Regions from separate parts of the Homo sapiens genome. Here region 2 is linked to region 1. Evidence: promoter capture Hi-C in 16 types of primary human blood cells and fetal thymus (Javierre and others, 2016). All regions are on one chromosome and are shown on one strand. The core of a region is centred on a gene start or on the middle of the fragment in contact, and the rest is flanking DNA. Distances in the headings are between cores, read along the strand shown.

Evidence for each region. Contacts are between HindIII fragments. The CHiCAGO score rates a contact against its expected background, and 5 or more counts as called.
Region 2: a contact is called between a fragment that was not itself captured here and the fragment with the promoter of ARRDC3 in region 1, in 1 of 17 cell types (fetal thymus). The highest score is 10.7, in fetal thymus.

The regions. Positions count from the first base shown.
Region 1 is chr5:91,380,535-91,388,267 of GRCh38, forward strand. ARRDC3 (arrestin domain containing 3) reads right to left here and starts at 2,783. Exons shown (of 8, transcript NM_020801.4): 1 at 2,279-2,783. The coding sequence starts at 2,558. It overlaps ARRDC3-AS1 (ARRDC3 antisense RNA 1), which reads left to right. Exons shown (of 3, transcript NR_027435.1): 1 at 1-390. RefSeq lists silencers at 475-544, 2,690-2,999 and enhancers at 2,853-3,370, 3,250-3,549. The HindIII fragment of the contact is 1,076 bases long and covers 2,522-3,597 here.
Region 2 is chr5:62,410,340-62,418,072 of GRCh38, forward strand. It overlaps IPO11 (importin 11), which reads left to right and starts at 2,424. Exons shown (of 30, transcript NM_016338.5): 1 at 2,424-2,590. RefSeq lists an enhancer at 2,345-2,534 and a silencer at 2,865-2,914. The HindIII fragment of the contact is 2,111 bases long and covers 2,150-4,260 here.

The DNA of each region.
Region 1 (7,733 bases), core at 1,533-4,032:
ACTTTCCTTCTTCCTCGGGCCAGCCTTTGCTCTGTCCCCTCAGGTCAACTCAAGGTAGACAGTGTGGCGACTGGAGAGGTCGGGGAACAAGCTTTGTTTCAGCTAAGGGGAAAACAAGCGTTCACAGGAGTCCCCTGACACCTCCCACTCGGAAGATAGCTAACGGGGGTCCTGCCAACCCTTCCCATCCAACTTCCATCTGAAAAGGATTTTCTGCTAAAGTTGGGTCCATGGCCATCCAGCACCTGTAAGGCCGGCAGGAGCGTCTGCCCTCTACTCAGTTAAAGCCTGAAGTCGTTTCCTTTCGATGGCCCTTAGGAGGCCCAAAAGAGGGGCGACAGAACATGATGTTGACACGGGCTGGGCGCCCCCAGAAGCCCGGGAACAAACGTGAGTACGGGCTGGGTGGGGGTCGCTCTGGAGGAACCTTTACCGGCGCACGCCGGTTTCCTAGCCTCGCCCCAGCCGCGGCGCGAGCTCACTCTCCCCACCCGCCCGCGCCCAATCCAATCAGCGCCTGCCATCGCCTTAGCAACAGGCTAACAAACCTGGCTCCGCCTATCCCGGGCGCCCGGGGCGGGGTCTCAGTTACCAGGCTAGTTTGAGAGCTCCCAGTTTCAAGTCATTGAAACTATTCCAGACTGAGCTCGTCTACGCGTTGCAGGGTTTGGGGGGCATTTTGTTGGGGGTGCAGGGCATTTAGTTTTCTTTACCACGAAATCATGGTGCAACTAATGAAATTATATTTGTCCTCACATCTCGTTGTTCTACTTTTCCCCACTGCAAGTCTTAACCCCTTGAGGAAAAATCTGTTTTCTTTCATCCGTTTCATAAAAGGCTGCAATATTCAGAAAGGTACAAACACAAAGTCATCTATCTGCTTTTCAACAAATACCAAGGCTGTCATTAGGCATTTGCATCTCCTATCAGTGTTAACACTTGGAGAGATTAATTAGTTATTTCAGGATGCAAAGTACCTGTATCTAACTACGAAAATCCTGCTAAAGAACTGAGTTCACCTTAATAGTTTCAAAAATAATGCATTAATACTGTCCCTCAAAGCATCCTTCATTTCTCACTTGCCTTAGTCATCAGCACTTCTCCAGGATGTACGTTTTTAATATAAAAAATAAGGTAAAATATGTCTCTAATTTTTTTTCTGAAAAATCGCCAACATCTGAACTAAATACTGCATTAAAAAGGAGAGGCACAAAAATTACATAACCAGTTTTAACATTATATTCTTCTTGGGCTAGGAATTAAGTCATCGCCACCACCTGACGCGTGTAACCAATCTGCTGAGAGCAGAACAAGCGCCCCTCCTCACCACCCCCCAGAACTGGTCCGAAACAGGATTGAACCGCTTCTAACAAAGGGTGGAAACTTAGAAAAACAAGCCTAGAGTCTCCTATATTTCCACAATGTAACCATTTAAACAATAGATTGGAAATCTCAGGACTCCTTCTCCTTTTGACAACCCTTTATCTCTCTCTTCTAACCAAAAATCAAATCCAGTGTGCCCTATACTTTTCAATTCCATTTGACTGGCATGGGTTTCATTGAATGCACGTTCCAAAGTTAGACATGATGCTCGGAAAAGAAAATTACTGATCCTAAATGGCTTCTAAACCTGACTCGATACCTATCATAATGACAGATAGTCATTCCTTTAAAATAAGGAATGCTGGGTGTAAATTTTTAAAGGAATGGTAAAGAATAGAGAAAAAACACGTGGGGTGTTGATACCATATGTCAAAATAAGCCACAGAAATCTTTTATGAAAGAACAGTCATCAATTATTTAAAGTCTTTTGCATTCCAATATTAAAAATGAAACACACCCATTAAGTCTCTTAAAAATGTTATTACATTTCTTGATCGAAGTTCAGTTTTTACATCTTAGGTTGCAAGTAAAAGGGCAAAAATCTAAGACTGCAGCTTTTACCAATTCATTTGAAAATATATTAGTAAAACGACTGAATTGGATTCAAACAGAATTTATAAGTAAGGTGCAAATGGACTACAAGTGCGTGTGGCACAGACCGAGCCGGGTACAGAGGTAGCTGAATAAGTGTAGTTTGCAGTCACTTTGCAGATGCCTGCATGCATTACGGCTTAACACACGATGAACGTCAAGGAGAATCCAAACCTTCCAACTTTGCTAACCTTTCTCAAACTGCTTAGTTATGCTAGGAGTAGAATCACGTTAATTCAGAAAACTGAAAAGGTACGTTTCCAAAGAAAATGAGTCCAATGACTTATGAATAACAAAAACTTACCTCTTTCGTGCCCAATTAAGATGTCTTTATGGTTGAAATACTCTACTTCTTCAGTGTAATTCTGTGTATAGGCAGTATTGGAGCCGGCGTTTCTAGATTCAGTCCAGCGTACTTTCGCATGTCCTCTTGCATGAATTTTAAGAGATTTTACTCTGATTTCCCCAGTAACTTCTAAATTTACCCTTCCTGAGACGGTATCCCCACTAGAATACACAGGGACATTGCTGTCATTAAGACAGTCAAAGCTTATTGTCAAACTCTTCACCTTTCCCAGCACCATGTTTATAACAAAATCTATAAAAATATAATGTAAGACAAAAAAGTCAAGATCGCATATAAAATGTGATCTTCACTTAACACTGATCGATATTTTTGCCGTGCAAAATGCTTGCAGGCCGGATCAGTGATTCTCTACAAATAGTTCATTGAGATTTCTTAAAAAGTCAGGGCAGCAGAGGCTGCTGCTCCGCGCTCCCGCTCGTCTCAGTGGTCTCCTTACAAAGACGGGCGGCTAAAAGCTGCCAGCTCACTTTAAGAGCAGCTTTGTGAAAAACAACCCCAGTGCGCAGGCGCAGGCCGCGGCTGCTGTCCGCCCTCCCTGCGCGCCCCCTCCCGCGCCGCGCCGCGCCGCGCTCGCTCCCTTGCCCGCTCGCTCCCGGGTACAGTAGGTGTAGAGCTAGGGGAAGGAGATACTGGAGCTGCTGGCCGGCTGAACCTGACTTCTCTTCATTGTGGGCTCCTATTGGTAGGCAGGCTACCGTATACCCTCGACGTGCTATCTGGAGCCCGTTACCGAGCGCACTCTACTAGAAAGATAATGGCAGAGTGGGGTGCGAGGGTACAAGGGCTGGGTGGGGAGTTTGCAAAGCCAAGTTAGGATAAACTGCAGCGACCAGCCCGAAGCGTGCGTTACCGGCACTGCAGCGTTTTACCAACTGCCTGGATGGGAGGAGGAAAAAGTGATGTGTGAAGAGAGATGGGGGAAGGGAGAAACCGGTTGGGCAAGCGGCCGATTGTTGAGCATAATCTAACGAATTTCCAAAGAAAACGTAATAAAACCGGACAAGAAATATTGTTCATAGACAAGAGCATACTTTGCTTGGATTTTTTTTTTTTAAACCAGTACTTTGTAGGCAGGTTGGAAATGAACTCAGTCGAGGTCAAAGGAACCTTAATCCTTTGAAGAGCGAGGTAGAGAAGCAAGTACAATGTAATCAATAGGCTTTGCTGTCTCCTCAACTTCTTTCTCCTACATTGCTTAATTAGCACCGAAAAACAACCAAGTTGTTTCCAGGATGACACGGGTGGGGGCTGGGGGAAGCTTGATCACTTCCTCGAAGGAAGAAAAAGTCCTTTTAAGACACCACCTACGGCTAGATTTGCAGAGTAAGACATGATTACAACTCCTGTGTCCAGAGGAATAAGAATAGAGTTCGGCCTAAAAAAGTACTACCTTATAAAAGGCATATGACATAGTGGTTTAGCTGACATATTGTTTGCAACAGAATCGGAAAATCTTTGTTAGAAATTAGTGAAGCGCATAAAATTGTTTTTAAAAAGCATGATTTGGTATATAAATAGGGATTTAACTGTGTGAAGCTTTAATTTTCGGCCGAGAGCCTTGGACCATTTAACGTAGTAATTCTCATGATACATCTTAAATATAGGTACATTTCTCTTTTTATTGTGAATGTTTGGTAAAAAATAGCAGTGCTTTCGTCACATCACACTGGGATTCAGAGCATAACAGCATAAACTCATCTAGATTACTGGCAATCAACAGAACTGCCTTACAAGAGAAATGTAGAAAGAAAAAATATGAATCTGGTGCTCTCTCTATATATATATGTATGACCAAAAATACCTTGGAAGATTTTTGGCTGTCCGTGTCTAAACGTTTTAGATTCTTTTGCGTAGTGTATATGGATAGGTTGAGCCTATGAGTCACAATAAACTAAACTTATTGGTCTTGCTGTTTTATTTCAAAAGAAACTAAGCTTTTGGGGGTTGGATTTTAGTTGACAAGGCAATATCTTGGACTCAACAGCAATATATAAAGAGTATAAATATGCAAACTAGACAATTAATGAGCAGGCCATTTATTTCAGAGTTTAGATCGCTATGCATAAAATTATAAATTTGCATATTTAAGTGGGAAAAACAGTCTTATCTTTTCCCTACCTCTTGGTTGACACCTGGTGGAAATTCTAGGTAAAGTACCTGGGGCCTTGTACTAGCTTTGATTACAGATACTACTTGTGTTTTTTCTCCACCTAGTGGTAGAAGTGGTGAATTTCCTAGAATGACAGCTTTTCCTCAGCATAAGGTCAATGATATTTAATAAGCATTCGAAAACCACTGAGCAAGGAATGGATTTAAAAGTGTAGTCCATAATGAATACATAAATTCATTGCACATTTGTGTCTACATTTATGTTAAAAATTATTAAGGGTTAGTGAACAGCTGAATTCGGATTTTTTTAGTAAAATTTATTTAATTAGAATATAACTCATTTCAGAAAAAATAAGAATTAGCTATATAAATACACCAGAATTGCATTTAATAAAAAAGAAGTCTAAGAAATTTATTTGTAGTTTGGAAAATTGTTTTAAAATATTAAATGTTTCATTCCTGTCACTGTGTAGTACATTATTCTTTGTGTTTGAAGCTTTCAGGATCTTTTGAATAGTTGTCTTTATTATTTATTTTGCTATTTTTAAAATTTTCTTTTTACTGTGTCTTCTTAAATACTTAGGTAACTGGCAAATTTCCAAGAAATTCTTACCAGCTGCCATTTTCATTATATTTTTATTTTTTGAGATGGAGTCTCACTCTGTTGCCCAGGCTGGAGTGCAGTGGCACAATCTAGGCTCTCTGCGGCCTCTGCCTCCCGGGTTCAGGCGATTCTCCTGCCTTAGCCTCCGGAGCAGCTGGGATTACAGGCACGCACCACCACCTCTGGCTACTTTTTGTATTTTTAGTAGAGACAGGGTTTCACCATGTTGGCCAGGCTGGTCTTGAACTCCTAGCCTCAAGAGATCCACCCGCCTTGGCCTCCCAAAGTGCTGGGACTATAGACATGAGCCGCTTGCGCCTGGTCTCGCTTTATCTTTTCAATTCTTAAAAACAAAAACAAAAACAAAAACGCTTGGACCAAATTTTGAATGTTTTCTCTTGTCGCTTTCATAACTTCCCCCTTTCAGATTTTTTGTCTAAATAGCTACTCCTTAGACAGCTTGAAATGCTGTACTGTAGACATTATCTTGGGCTTCTCAGCTTGCTTCACTGGGCCATTATTGTATTTTGTATTATATTTAAACTATTCGTCTTTACCATCAAGGCTCTTTCCTACTTCTCCCCAGCCTACGTCTCATATGCCATCTCCTCCTACTCATCTGCTAACTCTCTATAATCCTGTCAAGTACATCTTCTGTCCCCTTTGTTAGCTTGTCTCACTGTTGCCAGTATGCAGTTACATGTGCTTTTGGTGCCCAGAATAACATCCCACTACTATGTTATCTCCTTTGCTTTTTTCTAATCCCTCCACTAGATGCAGTTGGCACTACTGAGTAAAATTCCAACTAGACTGAATAACTAGCTTCCCTTCCCCTTTCATTGCTTCTTCAGAGCTTAAGTAGGAATCTCTTTTTATATTAGCTTTTGAGTCAAATGGCTCTTTCACCTTAATATATTAAAGTTTGAACTCAATCTCAAGAACTCTATCAAAGACTGATAAATGATCATTGCTGTCAAGTTGTATGATATTGAGGAGATATGTTAAGATTACTGCCAAGTTTGGAGTTTTTTGCATATTATATCAACATGCTCAATATTTTTATTTTTAAAAAAAAAGGAAGCCATCTCAACTGGAAGTTTTGGTGTTTGGTTGAAAAAAAAAAAAACCTACCAGTAGTCAGAATCTGTTTCATAAAGAAAAATATGAAATCTATGCTTAATCTATTTTAACTAGCAGCTGATAGGCTCGAGTGCTATGGGACTAAGGGGGATTTTTTTCCTTTGGTCTTAATTCTGTATTTCAAGATTTTGTAACTCTGACTTAACTCTTTAATATCGTCACAGTGCAGCAAATTTGGCATGCAGACTGGACAGAAGACTTGCTGTATTATTAGCAAAATGAGTAGTATTTGTTTTTTAGCTTTGAGAGCTATTACAAACATAACGCATATTATGTTTGTTATGTTCTTCATACTTAATAGACTTTTAAATATGTTATGGATTTTGTGATGAAACTCACTATCAAATTTGGATTCTGATATCCTTCATTAATAAATAGTATAATTTGTGTTATGTGAACACCATTTAATCTGTTATATTTTATTTCTTGATTAAAAGAAAATCACCCATAATTCTACTGTCCGTCCATTCAGAGACACCACTGTTAACATTTTGGTGTATTTCCATCCAGATGTACAACTAAAGAAGAGCATTGCCAGTGAAGCTATGGCAGTGCATATTATCATGTAGAAGATGAGTTGGTAAAGTTTATTCATCTAAGCTCAAATGGCATCTGGTCTACAGAAAGAATTAGGAATGCTAAATTTCTTTTCTGAACTACTTTATAAATTTTGACTTTTGACTATGCACAACTTTATATAATGAGGGTAAAATTTTATTTGCTGTAATAAAATATTTTCTGGCTGAGTGTGGTAGCTCATGCCTGTAATCCCAGAACTTGAGAGGCTAAGGTGGGAGGATTGCTTGAGTCCAGTGGTTTGAGACCAGTCTGGGCAACATAGCAAGACCCTGTCTCTACAAAAAATACAAAAATTAGCCAGGTGTGGTGGCATGTGCCTCTAGTCCCAGCTATTCAGGAAGCTGAGGTAGAAGGATCACTTGAGCCTGGAAGGTTGAGTCTGCAGTTAGCTGAGCTCGTGCCATTGCACTCCAGTCTAGGTGACAGAGTGCGACCCTGTCTCAAAAAAATTTTTTTTAAATTTTTTTTCAAACATTTGATTATTTTATTTTGAGACAGCTCTGTTGCGCAGCTGGAGTGCAGTGGCGCAATCTCAGCTCACTGCAACCTCTGCCTCCTGGATTCAAGCCGGGATTACAGGCCGTCATCACCATACTCTGCTGATTTTTGTATTTTTAGTAGAGGCAGGGTTTCACCACGTTGGCCAGGCTGGTCTTGAACTCCTGGCCTCAAGTGATCTGCCTGCCTTGGCCTCAAAAGATGCTGGGATTACAGGTGTGGGCCACCGTTCCTGGCCAACATTTTGATAATTTTATATAGGATATGTAGCTTATATAGCATAGCATATCTACTTTGAAATATTTTACTCTCCCAGGGATGAAAGGGCTGAAGAGGCCCATTAAAGTCATTAAGTCAACTCCCTGCCTTTAAGCAACCTGAGAACCCATTCTATTTTTGTTTTTATTTTCTTATTTATTTAAATTTTAACTTTCATTTTAGATTCAGAGGTACATGTGCAGG
Region 2 (7,733 bases), core at 1,955-4,454, about 29 Mb before region 1:
ATAATTTTATTTTGTTTAATTAATTAATTAATATATATTTTTTTGAGACAGAGTCTCCCTCTGCCGCCCAGGCTGGAGTGCAGTGGCACGATCTCGGCTCACTGCAACCTCTGCCTCCTGGGTTCCAGCAATTCTCCTGCCTCAGCCTCCCGAGTAGCTGGGATTACAGGTGCCTGCCACAAAGCCCAGCTAAATTTCTGTATTTTTAGTAGAGATAGGGTTTCACCATGTTGGCCAGGCTGGTCTCGCTCTCCTGACCTCCAGCAATCCACATGCCCCGGCCTCCCAAAGTGCTGGAATTACAGGCATGAGACACTGCGCCCGGCCTATTTATTTTTTCTTGAGATGGAGTCTCGCTCTGTCGCTTAGGCTGGAGTGCAGTGGTGCGAACTCGGCTCACTGCAACCTCCGCCTCCCGGCCTCAAGCGATTCTTCTGTCTCAGTCTCCTGAGTAGCTGGGATTACAAGCGCATGCCACCACGCCAGGCTAATTTTTGTAGTTTCAGTAGAGACAGGGTTTCACCATGTTGGCCAAGCTGGTCTTGAACTCCTGACCTCAGGTGACCTGTCCGTCTTGGTCTCCCAAAGTGCTGTGATTACAGGTGTGAGCCACTGTGCCCGACCTCAACATAATTTTAAATGGTCAATTTGTATTTTATTATGTATGGATGTATTGTGATTTAATCATTTGTGTCATTGGTGGTTGTTTAGGTAATTTTATCTTTTTACTTTAAAAAACAGCCCTTGTGTGATCGACATTCTTGGAATGCAGAGCTTGGTTCAAATCCTAACATGGCCTTTTACTAGCTGTTTGACGTTAGGTGGGCTACTTGACTTCTCTGTGCTTCAGTTTCTTCATCTGTGAAGTGGACATAAAGAAAATACCTACCTCATAAGGGTTGTTCTGAGGATTAAAATAGATAATTCCCATAAAGATCTTAAAACTGTACCTGGAATATTCTAAATTAGCAATAAAGGTTTTCTATTATTAATATTTTTGAACACTCTATTTCCTTACAACTTCTTTTACTATTATTATTATTATTTTGAGACGGAGTTTTGCTCTTATTGCCCAGGCTGGAGTGCAATGGCGCGATCTCGCCTCACTGCAACCTTTGCCCCCAGGGTTCAAGCGATTCTCCTACCTCAGCCTCCCGAGTAGCTGGGATTACAGGGGTGCACCATCATGCCCAGCTAATTTTTTATATTTTTAGTAGAGATGGGGTTTCTCCTTGTTGGTCAAGCTGGTCTCGAACTCCTGACCTAAGGTGATCTGCCCGCCTCGGCCTCCCAAAGTGCTGGGATTACAGGCGTGAGCCACTGTGCCTGGCCTTACTATTATTATTTTTAAGAAATATATAGTTGGTGTGTATTTTTAATTAATTTATTTATTTTGAGACGGAGTCTATTTATTTATTTATTTATTTATTTGTTTATTTATTTTGAGACGGAGTCTCGCTCTGTTGCCCAGGCTGGAGTGCAGTGGAGCAATCTTGGCTCACTGCAACCTCTGCCTCCAGGGTTCAAGCGATTCCCCTGCCTCAGCCTCCTGAGTAGCTGGGATTACAGGCGCCCGCCACCGCGCCAGGCTAATTACTGTATTTTTAGTAGAGACAGGGTTTCATCATGTTGGCCAGGCTGGTCTCGAACTTCGGACTTCGTGGTCCGGCCGCCTCAGCCTCCCAAAGTGCCGGGATTACAGGTGTGAGCTACTGTGCCCACCCCTTATTATTTTTGAAATGGGTGTGTGTGTGTGTGTGTGTGTGTGTGTGTGAACTCTCTATATGTCCCAGGTTGGCTTCGAATTCCTGGGCTCAAGTGATCCTCCTGCCTCCATATCTGGAGTAGCTGGGACTACAGGCGCGCGCCACTGCGCCTGAGTAAGTTCTCTTTTTAAGGATAAGAAAATTTAGGTGACTATGCTAGCTTTTAGCAGAGGCAAGCAGAACTGGATTTATGTCCTTTTACATTTTTCCACTCTTGCTATTACTCAGGAGTAAGCGCCAAGCAATTTGGGTAACTTAAAAAATAAATATTTGCGGGAGGGAGGGTGGACTGATGGGAGTAAGATTCTTTAAATAACTCTTCTCTGCTGTGACGGATCCGCTATTGATATCTAGAATATAAAGCGTGAAATGGTTCTGATTGAAGCTTCAATCAACGCAGGAAACAATTGAGCTCCCTGGGAGTCGGAGAAACCAGACCTATGGTTTCCATGGTGACAGATCCGGCTAGTCCGGACTCCTGGCTCTTTATACTGCGCAAGCGCACTGCGCAAGCGCACACAACTGATTTGGATACCCCGCGCCTTTTGGTTCAAAGACAAAGCCCCTCCTTCCCCTTCCCGCCGTTCGCCTATCGCCTTCTCTCTCTGCCGGTCGCATGCGCGCTGGTCTCCTGTGACGTAGTTTTCGCGCGTCCGCGTCGTTTGGAGCTGCGACGCCAAACATGGCGTGTTCCTAGAAGCCGCTTTCGGCATCAGTAGGCGGCGGCGTGGGGTCTGGCAGCGTGGGGAGAGGGACCAACCGACGCCACTTCGTGTTGGGAAGTGGGAGCGGGAGGGCCGGGCAATTCCCGACCGAACCAAACGGTGAGGCCCCGGCCCGAGAGCCACCGAGCGCGCGGGAGTGGAAGGGAGTGGGTTGGGCACCCGAGTCCCGAGAGGCGGGAGGAAAGTGGGGCTACCAGGAGATGAGGGATAACGGTAGCGAGGCAAGGGCGGCCTGCAGACTTGGCTGTTTGCGCAACCTTAGGAACCCGGGGAACTGGGGGCTGGCCGAGGCAGCCCGGGAGTGGGCAGCATGGTAGTGGAGCAATCAGGGTGCGGGGTGGGAGGGACCGTATGCTAGGCTGAGCAGAGGCGAGTGTACCCATCGTGACCGCGGTTGCGGACCTGGGTGATGCATTTGCCCTTGGGGGATAGGTGGTGCAAATTTTGAGATAAAGTGGTTATCTCGAGTATAAGACCGTTGTGCATTGTTACTGCGCACGCGACCTTGTTGCTAATAGCAATAGTGTGATAGCTTTAAACATTAGACCCTTACATGCTTTTAATGAAAAAGTGAAGGTAGTTGTCCGTTTATAGAGAGGAGCTTCATGGAGAGGTATGGCCGCCAATTCTCAAGCTCAGCGACTCCTGTAGATTTATATTTGGGGGTATTTGTGATTCAGCAAAACTACTTTTGCTTATTACGTGTGTCATTTTTTCTTTATTATTTTGTGACATGTTGGTGAATGAGAGAAGTACTATCTGAAAGTGATTTGACTAAATAGCAAGGACTGGTAAATTACCTACTAGTGCCAAGGTTGCAGTTGACATACCTCCTCCCCTCCATAATTTAAACGAGCTCAGTTGTAGCGCGGTAGTGCCCTTCAGATTTCGGTTATTCTTCAGAAGGAAGAATAGTTTGTAGCCATAATGCTTTTCCCCCTCCTGGGATAGGAATTTTCTTCCTCCATTTTCATGTTATTTCAAACTTCTCTGTTCAGTAGAGGAGCTTCAGATTAAGGGCAGGGTGACTCTTCTATAGGAGACATCCATTGCATGACACATATTACATCTTTCATCACTGAGGAAAATTTCGGTGAAAGTAGAAACATTTTCCCTTTTGGTTATGATGGGACTGGTATTTTCTCTGTTTCTGCAGTAACCTAGCACAGGGTATAGTAGAAACAATTAATTATAGTAGTGGCTTGTGGCCATATATTATAGTCTCAGGGTAGGAGGGTGGTCTCCGCCCTAGTTGAACTTCTAAGGCCAAAGAGAATTTTCACCACAAACACATTTGGCTGTGGTAATGTTAGAGGTTTTAAACAAATATGTAAAGATTATCTGATCATTAATAGAACAATTTTTAGATTTTGTGATGTTTGAATATATTTGCATTTGGAATCAAACCAGAATGCAGCATGATCCTTGTAGGCATGTGGCTATTAAAATACACTGAAGATTTTTCCAGAAACAAAATTTTTTTTTCTCAGCAATAAAAATATTCAAATTTTGGGTAAGGTAATGTTTGATTATTTGGATTTTGACCTTTGTGTTATATATTTGTACCTGTGTGTGTGTATGTATGTAACCTCACTTCTAATTTAGTGTTATTGATGGTAATATTTTTTCCTTTCTTTATCAGCTTCAAATAGGGACTGTTAATTTCAGAGCGTTTAAGGAATGGCAAAACACATTTAGTGCTGGTGTGAGTCTGTAGTGTGTTTGGTTTGCTGACTATCAGACTTATTACAGATAAGTCCACAGTTATAAGCTTTGTAGAGCTTAAGTTGCATCAGTGTTCTTTACCCTTGCTACTCAAATTGTGGTATATAGCATCACCTGGGAGTTTATTAGAAATGCATGATCTCAGGCTCAATCCAGAGCTGCTGAATCAAAATCTGCAATTTTAACAAGTTATCTAGATGAAAGGAATGTTCAATAAATCTTGAGATGCACTACTTTGGTTGGTAACAGTTGAAGAACACTGAGGTAATGCACAAACCGGTATAAAAATTTATAGCATCATTTATTTTAATCTGAGGTGATCTTATGCTGATTATCCAGTCTGATGAAACTGAGGCCCAGAAAGGTAAGTGCCTTGCATAAGGTCACACATACCTAGATTTATAACCCAGATTCCAACTCATTCCAGTGCTTTTCTTTTGCTGGTTACTGTCAGAGCTTGTTATATTAAAAACGGACTAAAATTCATGAATGACAATTAGGTGTTCATTCAATAACAAACGTCTATTGGGTACTGTACAGGCAGCCTAACAATCCTGTGTGTCCCTGCTAACTGCTCCTGTTTATCATGGTGGCTATTAACCCACCACCTTTCCTCTTTATTTTTTTTGAGGCGGGGTCTCACTGTCACCTAGGCTGGAGTGCAGTGGCGTGATCTCTGCTCACTGCATCTTCCGCCTCCCGGGTTCAAGCGGTTCTCCTGCCTCAGCCTCCAGAGTAGCTAGGATTACAGGTGCCTGCCACCAAGCCTGGCTAATTTTTGTATTTTTAGTAGACAGGGTTTCACCATTTTGGCCAGACTGGTCTTGAACTCCTGACCTCCCTGAACTCCACCCACCTTGGCCTCCCAAAGTGCTGGGATTACAGGAGTGAGCCCGGCCCCGTCTTTACTTTTTTTTTTTTTTTTTTTTTGAGATGGAGTTCTGCTCTTTTTGCCCAGGCTGGAGTGCAGTGGCGCGATCTCAATTCACTGCAACCTCCGCCTCCTGGGTTCAAGTGATTCTCCTGCCTCAGCCTCCTGAGTAGCTGGGATTACCGGCATGCACCGCCATGCCCAGCTAATTTTGTATTTTTAGTAGAGACGGGGTTTCTCCATGTTTGTCAGGCTGGTCTCGAACTCTCGACCTCAGGTGATCCCCCTGCCTCAGCCTCCCAAAGTGCTGGGATTACAGGCTTGAGCCACCACGCCCGGCCCCCTCTTTACTCTTTACTGGATAAAGTTCCCTTCTGCTTCATAGAGGAAATGAAATACATTGAGTGGGAACTTCATTGCTTTCTGTTCTGTTTCACCTGCAAACATGAAGACCTCTATCTGTCCATCTCTAATGATATTCTGAGTTTTTTCTCCTTACGGGCAATATTTCCTTCATGTGTTTGCTAGGGCCGCCACAACAAAATACCTTATATTGGGTAGCTTAAACAAGAGAATTTTTTTTCTCACAGTTCTGGAGAGTGGAAGTCTAAGATCAAGGTGCAGATAAGATTGGTTTCCTGTAAGACCTCCATCCTTGGCTTGCAGATGGCCACCTTCTTGCTGCCTTTTCTCGTGGTCATCCTGTGTGTACATGCACCTCTGCTGTATCTTTCTGTTTTCTTTTTTTTTCTTTTCTTTTTTTTTTTTTTTTTGAGACGGAGCCTCGCTCTTGTCTCCCAGGCTGGAGTGCAGTGGCCCGCTCTCAGGTCACTGCAACCTCCGCCTTCCCGGTTCAAGCGATTCTCCTGCCTCAGCCTCCTGAGTAGTTGGGATTACAGGCGCTCACCACCACGCCCGGCTAATTTTTATATTTTTAGTAGAGACGGGTTTCACCATGTTGTCCAGGCTGGTCTCAAACTCCTGACCTCAGGTGATCTGCCCGCCTCAGCCTCCCAAAGTGCTGGGATTACAGGCGTGAGCCACTGCACTGGCCTGCTGTTTCTTTTTCTTATAATGGCATCAGTTATATTGGTTTAGGGCCTTACCCTAACAACCTCATCTTATCTTAATCACCTTAAAAACTTTATCTCCAAATACTGAGGGTTCGGGGGTTAGGGCTTCAACATGAATTTTTAAGGAACACAGTTCAATCCATAACATTCAGTTACTCCTTTTTCAACTAGTACTAACTTAACAAGGATTTAAGCATACCCAAGTCTCTTATTATCTTTTTTTTTTTTTATTTTTTTTTTTTGAGACAGAGTACTCACTCTGTTTCTCAGGCTTGAGTGCAGTGGTGCTATCTTGGCTCACTGCAACTTCTGCCTCCCAGGCTCAAGCGATCCCTCCACCTCAGCCTCTCTGGTGGCTGGGACCACAGGTGAGGCGCAGGCCACCATGCTTGGCTAATTTTTGAATTTTTTTTTGTAGAGATGGGGTTTTGCCACATTGCCCAGGCTTGTCTCAAACTCCTGGGTTCAAGCGATCCACTGGCCTTGGCCTCCTGAAGTGTATTGGAATTATATGGGTGAGCCACCGTGCCTGGCCTCAAATCAAGTCTTATCTGAAATATACGCTCCTTACCTTAGATTCTTAGATTCCTCTTCAGCTTTATCTATAATTATTTTTCTTAGTTTTTTTTTTTCTCCTTTTTTTAAGAGACAAGGTCTCTTGTTACCTAGGCTGGCCTCAAACTTCAGGGCTCAAGTGATCCTGCCACTTCAATCTCATGAGTAGCTGGTACTACTTGTGTGTGCCACCATGCCCAGCTTATTTCCTTTAAGTTTCTTGAAAGAATTCTCTATATTCATTTTCTTCACCTCCTTATTGGTTAATTTTTTTTTTTTTTTTTTTTTTTTTTGGTATTTTGAAGGCTGACAGTCCATAGCAGTCACTGAATTTGATGTAGTGGTGATCACCATTGATATCTTTGTTGCTAAATCTAATGGAATCTGTTTAATCATTTGCCATTTTAACTACTTGTTCGTTCTTGAAATTTTCTTCTTATACTTCTGGGACACCATATTTTCCTTATTTCCTTCTTAGGTTTTAGCCAGTCTTTTGTTGGTTATTTTTCTCTTTTCTCTGACCACTTTAGATGTTTGACTCTGAGGCACTACCCTGCTCTCTTCTGAAAACCTTCAGATAAAAATCCAAACTACGTAGTTTAGGAAATAAGGACTTCAATGCACACTCTTCATGAATGGTCTCATTTGTGACTTCAACTATTGCCTCTATTTTGATGACTCCCAAATCTGGCTTTTTAGCACAGGTCTCTCTTCAACGCTGACATATGTAGTTGTCTTAAAATACTTGACATTCATGTCAAAAACGTTGTGTATTTCAACCTTCCTGACATTGTTTTCCTCCTATGAGCCATGCAGGCACCAATCAGTTGGAAAAGCCCAAAATCTTAATTCTTTCCCCTTATTAACTTATGTGTAACCCCTCCTCCAACTCTCCAACTATCTAATTATTTTATTTCCAACTCTCCAACTAGCCATTATTTATTTATTTATTTCTGAGACAGAATTTCACTCGTAGCCCAGGCTAAAGTGCAATGGTGCAATCTCGTCTCACCGCAAC